Linked DNA regions of Homo sapiens: regions 2, 3 and 4 are each linked to region 1. Evidence: promoter capture Hi-C in 16 types of primary human blood cells and fetal thymus (Javierre and others, 2016). All regions are on one chromosome and are shown on one strand. The core of a region is centred on a gene start or on the middle of the fragment in contact, and the rest is flanking DNA. Distances in the headings are between cores, read along the strand shown.

Region 1 (2,700 bases), core at 66-2,565:
CTGCTCATAGAAATAATTCTGAATGCAAATCATATGACTTTTATAAAAATAGTAACACTTTTGTTTTGTTTTGGATGAGGACATAAACGCTGAAGAATATACATATACAGAGGAACCTCGTTTACTGCTGATAGTAGGGGAAATAAATAATAATCTCTATTTATAGCTTAAGAAAGAGGTCCTCAAAGAGTGGGAGCCCTATGGGTCCCTGAGAGACCCTTCAAAAAGATCTGTGAAATCAAAACTATGTTCATCGTAATATTAAGACCTTATATTCCTTTTTTATTCTCATTCTCTCATTAGTGTATGGTGGACCTTTTCAGAAGCTATATGACATATTATATCATGACACTGATTGCAGAAGCAAGTATGAGAATCCAGTCATCTTCTAGTAAGCCAGACATCAAAGAGATCTGCATCTATGTAGAACAATGCCGCTTTTCTCAATAAGCCTGTTTTAGAAAGTAGAGTTATTTTTCATAAATTGTATGATATTTGCGTTAACATGTAATGGGTTTATTGTCACTTAAATAAGAAAGTAAACGTTTAAAAATTCTCCCTTTAACTTCTAATGTAGTAATATTGACAGGCATAACCTACATAGACAAAAGCACTTTGGAATCCTCAATACTTTTTAAGAGTGTAGAAATCTACAAACCACTGACCTTCAGCCTATCACAGGAAGCTTTGCTATTAGCACAATTATTGCATCTCTGCTCCTATGGTTGCTTTTGTCTCACTGTCTCTGATCTTTCAAAGACCGTTGGGAAGAGCTTGACCAGTAATCTATTGAATGGAGATTACATTTTGAACCTTTTCCTACAACTCAGTGCCCTGTGGGATGACTCTGGGGTGTCTCCTGATGGCTAGGGCAACAGGTCCCTGTTGACATCACCTTATCGGGAAGTTTTAGACAGGAACAGTCTTCAGGCTCTGAAGTACTTGAACACCATGGGATTCCTGCCTTACAGAAGTTAATGAGCACGACTCAGGCAGATTCATAATTCTCCTTAGAAGCCATTTGGGATGGCTTCCACTTTGGGGTCATTCCACATAGGCCAATGCAGAGCATGCAGTAACTGCTCAAATAGGATTTGGAAAGGAATGAATAATTCATTTAGACGTTCAACTTGGAATAGACTTAAGCAGACACTCCTGGTGATGAAGGACTTAGATGCCAGAAAATCAGGCTCAAAGACTTTCAAGCCACTTCCTAGTGTGATGTCACATTCCTTCCTACGCTCCACTGGGGAAGGCAGGTCTGCCCCGCCCACGGTGGCGGGGAAATACCTAGGCATGGAAGTGGCATGACAGGGCTCGTGTCCCTGTCATATTTTCCACTCTCCACGAGGTCCTGCGCGCTTCAATCCTGCAGGCAGGTAGACACCGGGCCGGGAGTCTGGCTGAGCCAGGCATGGGTGGGGCCCTGACAGTAGGAGAGGTGTGCAGGAAAAGACGTGGCAACAATGTGTGCCACCGCAGGCCAGGGATCAGGCCCCCCAGGCCGGCCCCCGACCGGCTAGGTGACCATGGGGGAGCCGACTCCGTCTCTGGGTCGAGGAGTGGAGCTCGCGGCTATTTTCAGCTCCAGCGGCTCCCTGCCTTCCTTTCTCCTTTCCCGCTGGCCCTTGCCAGGTAGGCCTGCCCTGGCTGCTCCCCAGTGAGCGGGTGTTTGGGGTTTCTGTTTAGACCGCCAGGCTCGGGTGGATCCCGAGGACACAGGCGCGCAGGGGAGGCTCCGTGCGCCGCGAGCGGGGTTGGGGTCCCACGTCTGGAACCCAGGCCGCAGGCTGCGCTGGGGGGCGCCCTGGCCCTCACGGGGGCTCTGGACACCAGCCTGCTTCGCTGTCAGGTGGCAGAAGCAGCTCCCACGCGGTCCCCACCGCCGCCGCCGCCTACTCCTCGCCCATCCTCCTCTGCGGCGGGGCGAGCTCCCTGCCCTGGATCCTGGTCGGGCGCCCAGACGAAGGAGACAGGGGAAGGGCAGTCTTTGGGGAAACGTGGGGCCAAAGTCGGAGGGCTCCCCAGGAAAAAGGGAAGGTCAGCGGCCTGGGCGGTTGTCTTTGAGATTCCGAGGTCGCCCACGCCGGCGCCTCGGGCCCGCCCTACTGCGTCCTCCCCTCCCACCCTCTTCTCCCTTCCTTGCAGCCCGGTTTGGGGATGTGGTCCTTGCTGCTCTGCGGGTTGTCCATCGCCCTTCCACTGTCTGTCACAGCAGGTACGTTCCGTGTGTCCTCCGTTCCCAGAGGCTGCCCGAGTCCACAGGCTCCTGGCCTGTCATTGGGAGCCCCCGGGGATCGCGTCAGCCCGAGCGCGGCTCCTTCCCCTCCCCAGACCGCCAGGCGGAGTTCCGCGGAAGAGGAAACAGAGAACCAGCTCCACGTGCTCGGATGCTCAGCCCTGAATGTCGCCTTTGAGCTTGGAGGTGACTTCGGGGAGGGGAAGGAGTTAGGCAAATTCCAAGTGAAGACTTGAGTAACAATGCTCAAATGGAATTACTACAGGCTATTTTATAAGATAAAGCGTTATTTTATGACACAAGGTGAAAGCAAGGAAACCGTCAATAGAACAAATTTCTTCTAAGAAATTTGGTATGGCCGGGCGCAGTGGCTCATGCCTGTAATCCCAGTACTTTGGGAGGCCAAGGCGGGCGGATCACGAGGTCAGGAGATCTAGACCATCCTGGCTAACACGGTGAAA
Region 2 (2,700 bases), core at 13-2,512, 140 kb before region 1:
ATGCTTCAAAGACAGCAGGATGGCCATGCCACATGAGCCTTCAGATGTGTCCCTCTGCTCTGCAACAAGGATCCGTGATCTGGTTCCCAGGCCTGCCTTTCCTTATCTTGGGGCAACTTATTCCCCCAGTGGGGATATTGTTTTAAAGGATAAGGGGCAGCCAGTGCTCCCTGATTTTGGAAAGGAGGTGAATCTGGGGTAAGGCAAAATGTCAGCTCTACATGCAGTACAACAGTCCCAGAGTGCTCAGTCAGCCAAGACCCAGGGTGGGTTGACACTTACATACCTGAGTTCCTGTTGAGCACGTGGCTTATTCTTTTATGCTGAGACTCTCAGAAAGAAAGAAAGGAAGGAAGAAAGAAAGGAGAAGAGAGGAGAGAGGGAGAGAGGAGAAAGAGAGGGAGAAAAAGAAAAAGAAAGATGAGAGCAGAGAAGAAGGAAGAAAGGAAGGAAAAAGGAAGAAGGAAGGAAAAAAAGAGAGTAAGAAAGAAAGGAGAGGGAAGGAGGAAGGAAGAAAGAACAAAAGAAAAAGAAAAAAACAAACAACCAAATAAGCAAAAATATCTAAACTGAATCACAGAGGAGAATGTAGTCAATGCAAGTTACCACAATATGCTGTGGGAACACAGGAGGGGAGAAGTGGTGTCCAGGGTGGCCATGTGTGTCAGTGGTGGAGGGCAAATAGGAAAGAGGACAAGGTCAGTGCATAAATCACAGGTGAAAGAACATCTTGTGTATTCATTCATTCATTCATTCATTCGACAAATAGTAATTTTTCCTTTCTTGGCTAGGGAATACAGACCTGTCCCCTGTCCTGTGGGAGCTTAAATCTCATGAAGAAGACAGACAAAGATAATATAATGACCCAGATAAAATGTAAACTTGTGGAAAGTGTAGGGAAGGAGAGAGCTGTGTTTGCTGTAAGTGGGTATAACCAGGGGATTTCCCCCACCCAGGGAGGTCAGAGAAGGATGTTTAAGGGTGGGTGAGATTTCAACACCTCAGAGGAGGGCGAGATATCCTATTAGGAGAAACAGACTGGGCAGTGAGCAGGGCTGGAAAGGGCTGGCCAGGTGTAGGGAAAGATGAGTGGTCTGGACCCATGAAAATGGCAGGGAATGAATGAGAGACAATGAGGTACGAGGCTCTGCGCCTGGCAGTTTCTATGTTTGGAGTTTATGTTACACTTAGAACAATCCTGTAAGGTAAGAATTCCCTTGGTTTTTGTTCTCCTGGAGGTAGATCCTGAGGTAAAGACTTGGATGCAGGCAATTTATGGGGGAAGTGATTCCAGGAAGCAAGGATAAGGGGGCAGGGAGACTGGCCCATTCTCCCTGCCCAGTCTTAATTGGTGTTTCCATTTAAGGAAACACCATGCTAAGGGTGACTTACGGAGGTCACCTGCCGTGGCTGATGGAGTTCGTGTCCACCAGGACTTTCTCAAAAGTACATACAAGTTCTCCCACAATTTTTTTCTTGAAGGAATGGACATAGCTCAAGAATTAGGGGTTCCTGAGACAACTACTGCAGGTGTTGTATTCATTTTAAAGCCAAGGATCAGAAAATTTCAGTCCCTTGCTTAAATTTACATGGCTGGTAATTGACAGAGCAGGGACTTGAACTTAGGTGGATTGTGATTGCAAAGTTCTTACTCTTACCATCATAATTTGCTGTCCTCTTCCCTATGTATTAAAACATAATTGTCTAATGGATATTAATGTCAATGTTGCTATGATATTTTTTCTAACATTCATTAATTCTTCCAGCCCTAAAGGTGATGTTGAACCTCTGATTCTGCTACAGTACTAAGATTTATTATGTCACTGGAGGGCAGTGAAGATATGATGTGACATGATGTACAGAGCAAACCAACTGGCCCTGTGAGTACTTAATCCAAGCATAACATTGTGAAAGGGATAAAAATAGAGTCTGTGGTGGATTAAAGATGCCCATGAATTCTTTGCTACTTCTTTCATTTAAAAATGGAGTTTAAATCCTCTTTTCCTAAATGCGGGGTGGTCTTAGTGACTTGATTGACCAATAGAATGAGACAGAAGTGACTTTCTGGGACTTCTGGGAATCCCTGCAGCTTGCAACTGGAACTCTTGAATGGAACACTTGCTCTTGGAGTCCTGAGGGGCCATTGAAGGTATCCAACTACTCTGAGGCTCCCATGCTGGAGAGATCCCAGGTAAGTGCTCCAGTTGAGGGTCTCAGCTGACCCCAGTCTTCCAGCTGTCCTTGCCAAGGTGCCAGATGTATGAGAGCCCCTCCAGACCAGACCATCTTTTAGTCCAGTGCCACCAAGTCAACTCTGTTGATGCCACATGGAACAGACGAACCACTCAGCTGTGCCCTGTCCAAATTCCTGACCTAAAAAATTCTGAGGTAAAATAACATATTTTTAATGTTAAACTTCTAAGTTCTGGGCTAGTTACTCAGGAAGGGAGGACTGGAACATGACCACCACTTTCTATTTCCTGTAGTCACTGCAGTATTACTCTTCTTAGCAGACTATGTAGCATGTTTAATGTAGGCTGAAATGTTAGGTTGAAGTTCAGCTGTTTGGACTAAGTTCTGTTATAGACACATTTAGCAATCATTGGAAGTTTGGGAAACTCTCTTTTTCTCTGTTTGTTAGCATGCCTGGAACTTTGAATAATGCATCTGAAGAATCTGCCCGCATAGGTAAAAACATGC
Region 3 (2,700 bases), core at 99-2,598, 180 kb before region 1:
ACATCTGCTTACTAGCTGTAAGATCTCGGCCAGGCCTTTTAACCCCTTTAAACTCTTATAATACATCCTCTGTAAAATCAGCATGATACTCAGTTTGTGGGGATAAAATGCAAGAATGAATGTTCAATATTTGGCACAATAGCTATTGTTATACACTAGTCCCTAAAACACCAGCTTTGACTTCATTTACTTATCCTGATATATGGTATTGGTTAGCTACAGTGTATTTAAATTCCTACTTCTTTCATGTTCTAATGGTGCACTAATGAGTCTGGCTTGGACCAGTATAGTTGGGGATGTGATAAGCTAATGCGTGTCCAAGGAGGACACAGCAGCTTGGTGGATGTTTATGTGACCTTCATCTGGCAAACCTGACAGTATGGTTAGGGGTAAAGTCACAGGAACTATTTGTGCTTCAGAAACTCGTGAAGAATAGTATTGTGTAGAAACAGAGTTTAAGGGAGAAAGCTCCAGGCTAGATACATAGCTAAGGGGAATATCTCAGGTCACCAGAAGGGGGAGCTCAGACTGTAACTCTGAGTCCTTGGACTCAGGGTTCCCCACTCACGAGGGAGGGTTTCTGGAGTGCGAGGGTCGGTTCCTCAATGCCGCAATGCCGCCCTGGATTTACTGCAAGTCATTCCCAGAGATATCTGTGCAAGGAGCAGGGAACAACTCAAGGTAAAAGTGGCTGGGAATTTTTCCCCTGGATTCATTCACAACTCCTGCCGTGGGCAGGCTTTTAGTCATAAGTATTCCCCGGTATGTTCTAGTGTGTGGGCCATGAGGGCTGTGAGCAAGACCAGGGCTCTGCCCCAAGGTTGTCACCATCCTTGCGGAGCCAGAAGAGTCAGGCATGGCAGCTGGCACGACTGCTCCCACTTCCGGCCCTGCCGATGGCCGGGTGGGGCATTGACTTGCTGTGTCGGATGGAATGTGAGCAGACAAGAGTGAGTTAGTTCCCAGTGTGGCCTCGTGTGTGCTTTTGGCCGCATCGTTTCCAGTTTCGCCATCCCCAAAGAGGATCATCTCCCAGGAAGCTTACTGGTCCAAGGAGGATGAGACACCCATGGAGCAGACTTGGACCCCATCTGCCGCTCAGAGCCAGGCCTAACCCTGCCAAGTTTAGGTTAACCAACTTCCATCTTGCCCACAGACTTGTGAGCAAGAGTGAACGACCGTTGTTTCACACCATTCAGTTCTGGGGTCGTTGGTTTGTTAAGCAGCATCGTTGTGGCCGTGGTTAGCAGACACAGGGAACACTTGTGATAGTGTGAGAAGGTCATCAGGGAGACGAGGAGGGCATCTGACACTCCAGTCTTTGGGGGGCATGGGGGAGGACTGCTTCATAAACTTGTACAAGCTATTTCTGTTTTGGATTTCTTGTTGCTTTTCTCCCTGGGATGCTGTAGACCAGAGTGTTAGCAGGACACCAAATCTCTTGGCGCATGTCAGAGTTGTATGTAAAACAGGAGTTAATCCGTAGGGGATATAGGGAAAACTCTCTGACAAGTGAAATATGAGGACTCTTGGGCTTTGAGTGATCCATTAACTCACTCATTCATTCATTCAAAAAATGAGAGTTAGGGACAGAACTGTGAATAAGATAAAGCAGGGTTCTGTCAACCAAAAAGTATCTGACAGTCTTAATAATTTAGAAGCTTATTTTGCCAAGATTAAGGACAATGCCCAGGAGAAAAAACATGGAATCACAGAAAAAGCAGTCTGTGGTCTGTGCCTTTCTCCAAAGATGATTTTGAGGGCTTCAATATGTAAAGTTTTTCCCCTATTGAAAAGCAGGCTGGAGGGCAGAGAGGGAGGGTGCAGTCATTACTGAATCCATGTGTTGCAAGGGAAAAGAAATAGGTAGGGAATAGTCAATTATATTCCTCTTATACTCAGTAAATCTGCTCTTCACATATGATAAGGTAAACATAGAGTGGCTACCTGTGGAGAATTTTTAAAATCTTTTATCTGTACGCTCTCTGCTTAGGAACAAAAGGAAAGGCAGCTTCTTGCAGGACTCAGACTTCAGCTTATTTTTTTCCTTTTGGCAGAGTGAATTGGGGGTCCCAAGTTTTTATTTTCCTTTCACAGTCCTTCCATCAGTGGAGCCTGAATTCTGGAGAGGGGAGACAAGGCTGATGATGAATGCCACAGAGAATGACAGGGAAGGGAAGGAAAACATGGAGTATTGGGATTAAAGGTGGTGCAATTTTAGATAGGGAGGTGAGGGAGACCTCACGAAGAAAGTGAAGTCCGAGCAGAAAGGGCACTGGCAGTGGCCTTAGCTGAGGAAGCAGCATCTCTGGCCAAGGCGCAGGAATGGCTAAGGGAGGTCTCTGCAGAGACAGCAGCTTATGGGGCAGAGCCCCTCTGCCAAGCACGCCTCTAGGTGCTACAAGGATTCGACTTTAGATATGTTCAGTGAATATAGCTGCAGAGAAACAAATCCAAAAATTTTGAGTTTTGTTCTTAAACAGAGTAGGCCAAAAGGTTCCCATTATCCAGTGAAGCTTCCAGACCCTGCCCCTACCCCGTCTTCAAGGGATTCTCTCTGCAGGGTTCTTGGTTCCTGGTGACACCTCTGTTTCCTCCCCTAGGCCACGTGCTGCTGGGTCTCAGTCCTCCACTTCCCGTGTCCTCTGGAAGTTGTCAGGAGCAATGTTGCGCTTGTACGTGTTGGTAATGGGAGTTTCT
Region 4 (2,700 bases), core at 124-2,623, 240 kb after region 1:
GATGTTATCACATCCTTTACAGAAATAAATATACAGGGTGGACGAACGGCATGGGGTATGGTCTCAAATTTGTGTTTTTATATGACACTGAAAGAATGCTGGTCTCAATAAAACCCTAATTTCAGAAACATTCATTTCATAACCTTTAAAATGAGGTTAGTAAGAAGAGCCAATAGTTTTGTTCATTATTTTCAGTTCTCTCTCAAGAACAAAACTTCCTTTGGTTCAAAGTATCCGTCATCCAGGATGGCAGCTGTCTTGTTGTCTTGGTGGGCTGTTCTCAGGCCTGTAAAGCAGTCTTGTCCCCGTTATTTCAGATGAAAATGTGTTTGGCTTTTCAATGATCATACACCTGAAGTGAAAGCTATGAATTTTTACTTTTCAGGTGAGCACAAGTTGCATAATAGTAGCCAGCTTTCTGCAAATATTGCTTTTATAAACTAAACCCTAAAACTGTATGACATTCACAAAAGGAAGCTTTGTTTCACTTCCCTGGGGCTTTGACTGCAAACGTCAACATGTGTTTAATGGTGAACAGGCAGCCACCTTAAGAATAGGTGAACAATGGCTGTTATGAAAATTGTACCTCTGATACAGATTTGGACAGGTCCTGGTTTTGTGAATTACACATATGTGTGTGTGCACTCACACATACACATGCATATAAAGGCACATAGTAACCTGGAAATCACAGACCTTATGGCAGTAGTACATCACTAAAAGTGATGGCATTAGGCAGGAAAAAACACCTAATGCCTTTTTCCTTCATGCTAACCCCCAGGTTCTCAGGTGGTGGGTAAGTCATACCTACGACCCATCTCTGAATAGGTGAAGCTGGCACTGGCTGAGAGAATGAAAACATGGCTTTACTGAATTCAAATAAAACTGCTGACCAGGGATACACCCACCAGATATACAGAGTATACAACTGAAATAAATCCCTGGGCTTGGAGTCTCTGGAGCATTCCACAATATTTTTAATTGGCGAATTAAGAACAGGCTTGCAGATTGTTTAAATTTTTTTCAACTTCTTTATTTTAAAATTATTTTTAATTAACAAATCATAATTGTATACATTTACAATAGATTAAATATATACAATACATTTAATGGTCAATAGATTTTAAAAAAAGATGCCAAGAACTCACAATGGGGAAAGGATTACCTCTCCAATAAGTGGTGTTAGGAAAACTGGTTATCTACAGGGAGAAGAATGAAATTGTATCTCATACCACATGCAAAAAAAAGTATTGATGTGATGTTTTGATATATGTATACAATGTGGAGTGATTAACTCAAGCTAATTAACACATCCATCACCTTGCTTACTTTTTTTGTGGACAGACATTTGAAACTTACTCTCTTAGTTATTTTGAAATGTGCAATACAATATTATTGGCTATAGTTATCTTGCTGTGAAATATGCCTGAAAACTTAACTCCTCCCATCTATCTGAAACTTTGTACTCTTTGACCAGTATCTCCCCATTCACCCTCTTCTCCCCACCAATCAAGCCTCCATAATCATCATTCTATTCTCTACTTCTATGAGTTCAACTTTTTAAGGTTCTATATATGAGTGAGCTCTTGCAGCATTTGTCTTTCTGTGCCCGGCTTATTTCACTTAGCATAGCTTCCAAGTTTATTCGTGTTCTCCCACATGATTGAATTTCCTTTTGTAAAGGCTGAATAGTATTTCGTTGCATACATGTACCACATTTTCTTTGTCCATTCCTCTGTTGATGGACACTAAGGTTGATTCCATATCTTGGCTATTGTGAATAGTGCTGCAGTAAGCATAGGAGCGTAGTTAACCCTTTGCCATACTGATTTCAATCTCTTTGGATATGTACCCAAAAGTGGGATTGCTGAATCATATGGTAGCTCTATTTTTAGTTTTTCTGATGAGACTTCATAGAGTTTCTCTTAATGGCTGTACTAATTTACATTTCTACCAACAATGTACAACAGATTAATTTTTTTGATAAAAGCCGCTCTAACAAGTGTGAGGTGATATGTCATTGTGGTTTCAATTTGTATTTCTATGATGATTAGTGATACTCAGCATTTTTTCATATAGTTGTTGGCCATTTGCATCCTTTCTTTTGAGAAATATCTTTTCAGGTCTCTTGCCTATTTTTAAAATGGGCTATTTGTTTTCTTGCTAATGCAGTGTTTGAGTTCCTTATATATTCTTCACATTAACTCCTTATCAGATATATAGCTTGTAAATATTTTCCCCATTTGGTGGGTTGTTTCCTTTGCTACACAGAAGCTTTTTAGTTTTATGCTATATCATTTTTCTATTTTTGTTTTTGTTGCCTGTGCTTTCAGGGTCATATTCAAAAGAATATTTGCCCATAACAGTGCTGTAGAGCTTTCCCTCTATGTTTTCTTTTAGAAGTTTTACAACTTTAGGTCTTCTATTTCATTCTTTAACCCATTTTGAATTGATGGGTTGTATGTGCTATGAGATACAATTTCATTCTTCTCCCTGTAGATAGCCGGTTTTCCTAACACCATTTATTGGAGAGATAATCCTTTCCCCATTGTGTGTTCTTGGCATCTTTTTTTTTTTTTTTAATTTATTGACCATAAATGTGTGGGTTTCTTTCTGGGCTTTCTGTCATATTCCATTTGTTCATGTGTCTGTTTTTATGCCAGTACCATGCTGTTTTGATTTAAATGGCTTAACAATATA

Evidence for each region. The method cuts DNA at HindIII sites, captures the fragments that hold promoters and counts their contacts. A CHiCAGO score of 5 or more calls a contact.
Region 2: a fragment that was not itself captured here is called in contact with the fragment with the promoter of IL1RL2 in region 1 in 2 of 17 cell types (activated CD4 T cells and M2 macrophages); the score reaches 6.0 in activated CD4 T cells.
Region 3: a fragment that was not itself captured here is called in contact with the fragment with the promoter of IL1RL2 in region 1 in 9 of 17 cell types (M2 macrophages, M1 macrophages, M0 macrophages and 6 more); the score reaches 10.4 in M2 macrophages.
Region 4: a contact is called between a fragment that was not itself captured here and the fragment with the promoter of IL1RL2 in region 1, in 6 of 17 cell types (activated CD4 T cells, naive CD4 T cells, M2 macrophages and 3 more). The highest score is 9.4, in activated CD4 T cells.

The regions. Positions count from the first base shown.
Region 1 is chr2:102,185,708-102,188,407 of GRCh38, forward strand. IL1RL2 (interleukin 1 receptor like 2) reads left to right here and starts at 1,316. Exons shown (of 12, transcript NM_003854.4): 1 at 1,316-1,379; 2 at 2,149-2,218. The coding sequence starts at 2,161. RefSeq lists an enhancer at 972-1,501. The HindIII fragment of the contact is 3,870 bases long and covers 684-2,700 here.
Region 2 is chr2:102,041,885-102,044,584 of GRCh38, forward strand. LOC107985926 (a long non-coding RNA gene) reads left to right here and starts at 542. Exons shown (of 3, transcript XR_001739615.1): 1 at 542-1,205; 2 at 1,767-1,880; 3 at 2,090-2,700. RefSeq lists an enhancer at 1-732. The HindIII fragment of the contact is 3,739 bases long and covers 1-2,700 here.
Region 3 is chr2:102,005,912-102,008,611 of GRCh38, forward strand. IL1R2 (interleukin 1 receptor type 2) reads left to right here. Exons shown (of 9, transcript NM_004633.4): 2 at 2,604-2,700. The coding sequence starts at 2,665. Among named protein-coding and RNA genes, the nearest start is that of IL1R2, 15 kb to the left of the region's middle. The HindIII fragment of the contact is 621 bases long and covers 1,039-1,659 here.
Region 4 is chr2:102,425,415-102,428,114 of GRCh38, forward strand. All of the region lies in intron 3 of IL18RAP (interleukin 18 receptor accessory protein), which reads left to right. Among named protein-coding and RNA genes, the nearest start is that of IL18RAP, 3.6 kb to the left of the region's middle. The HindIII fragment of the contact is 1,797 bases long and covers 476-2,272 here.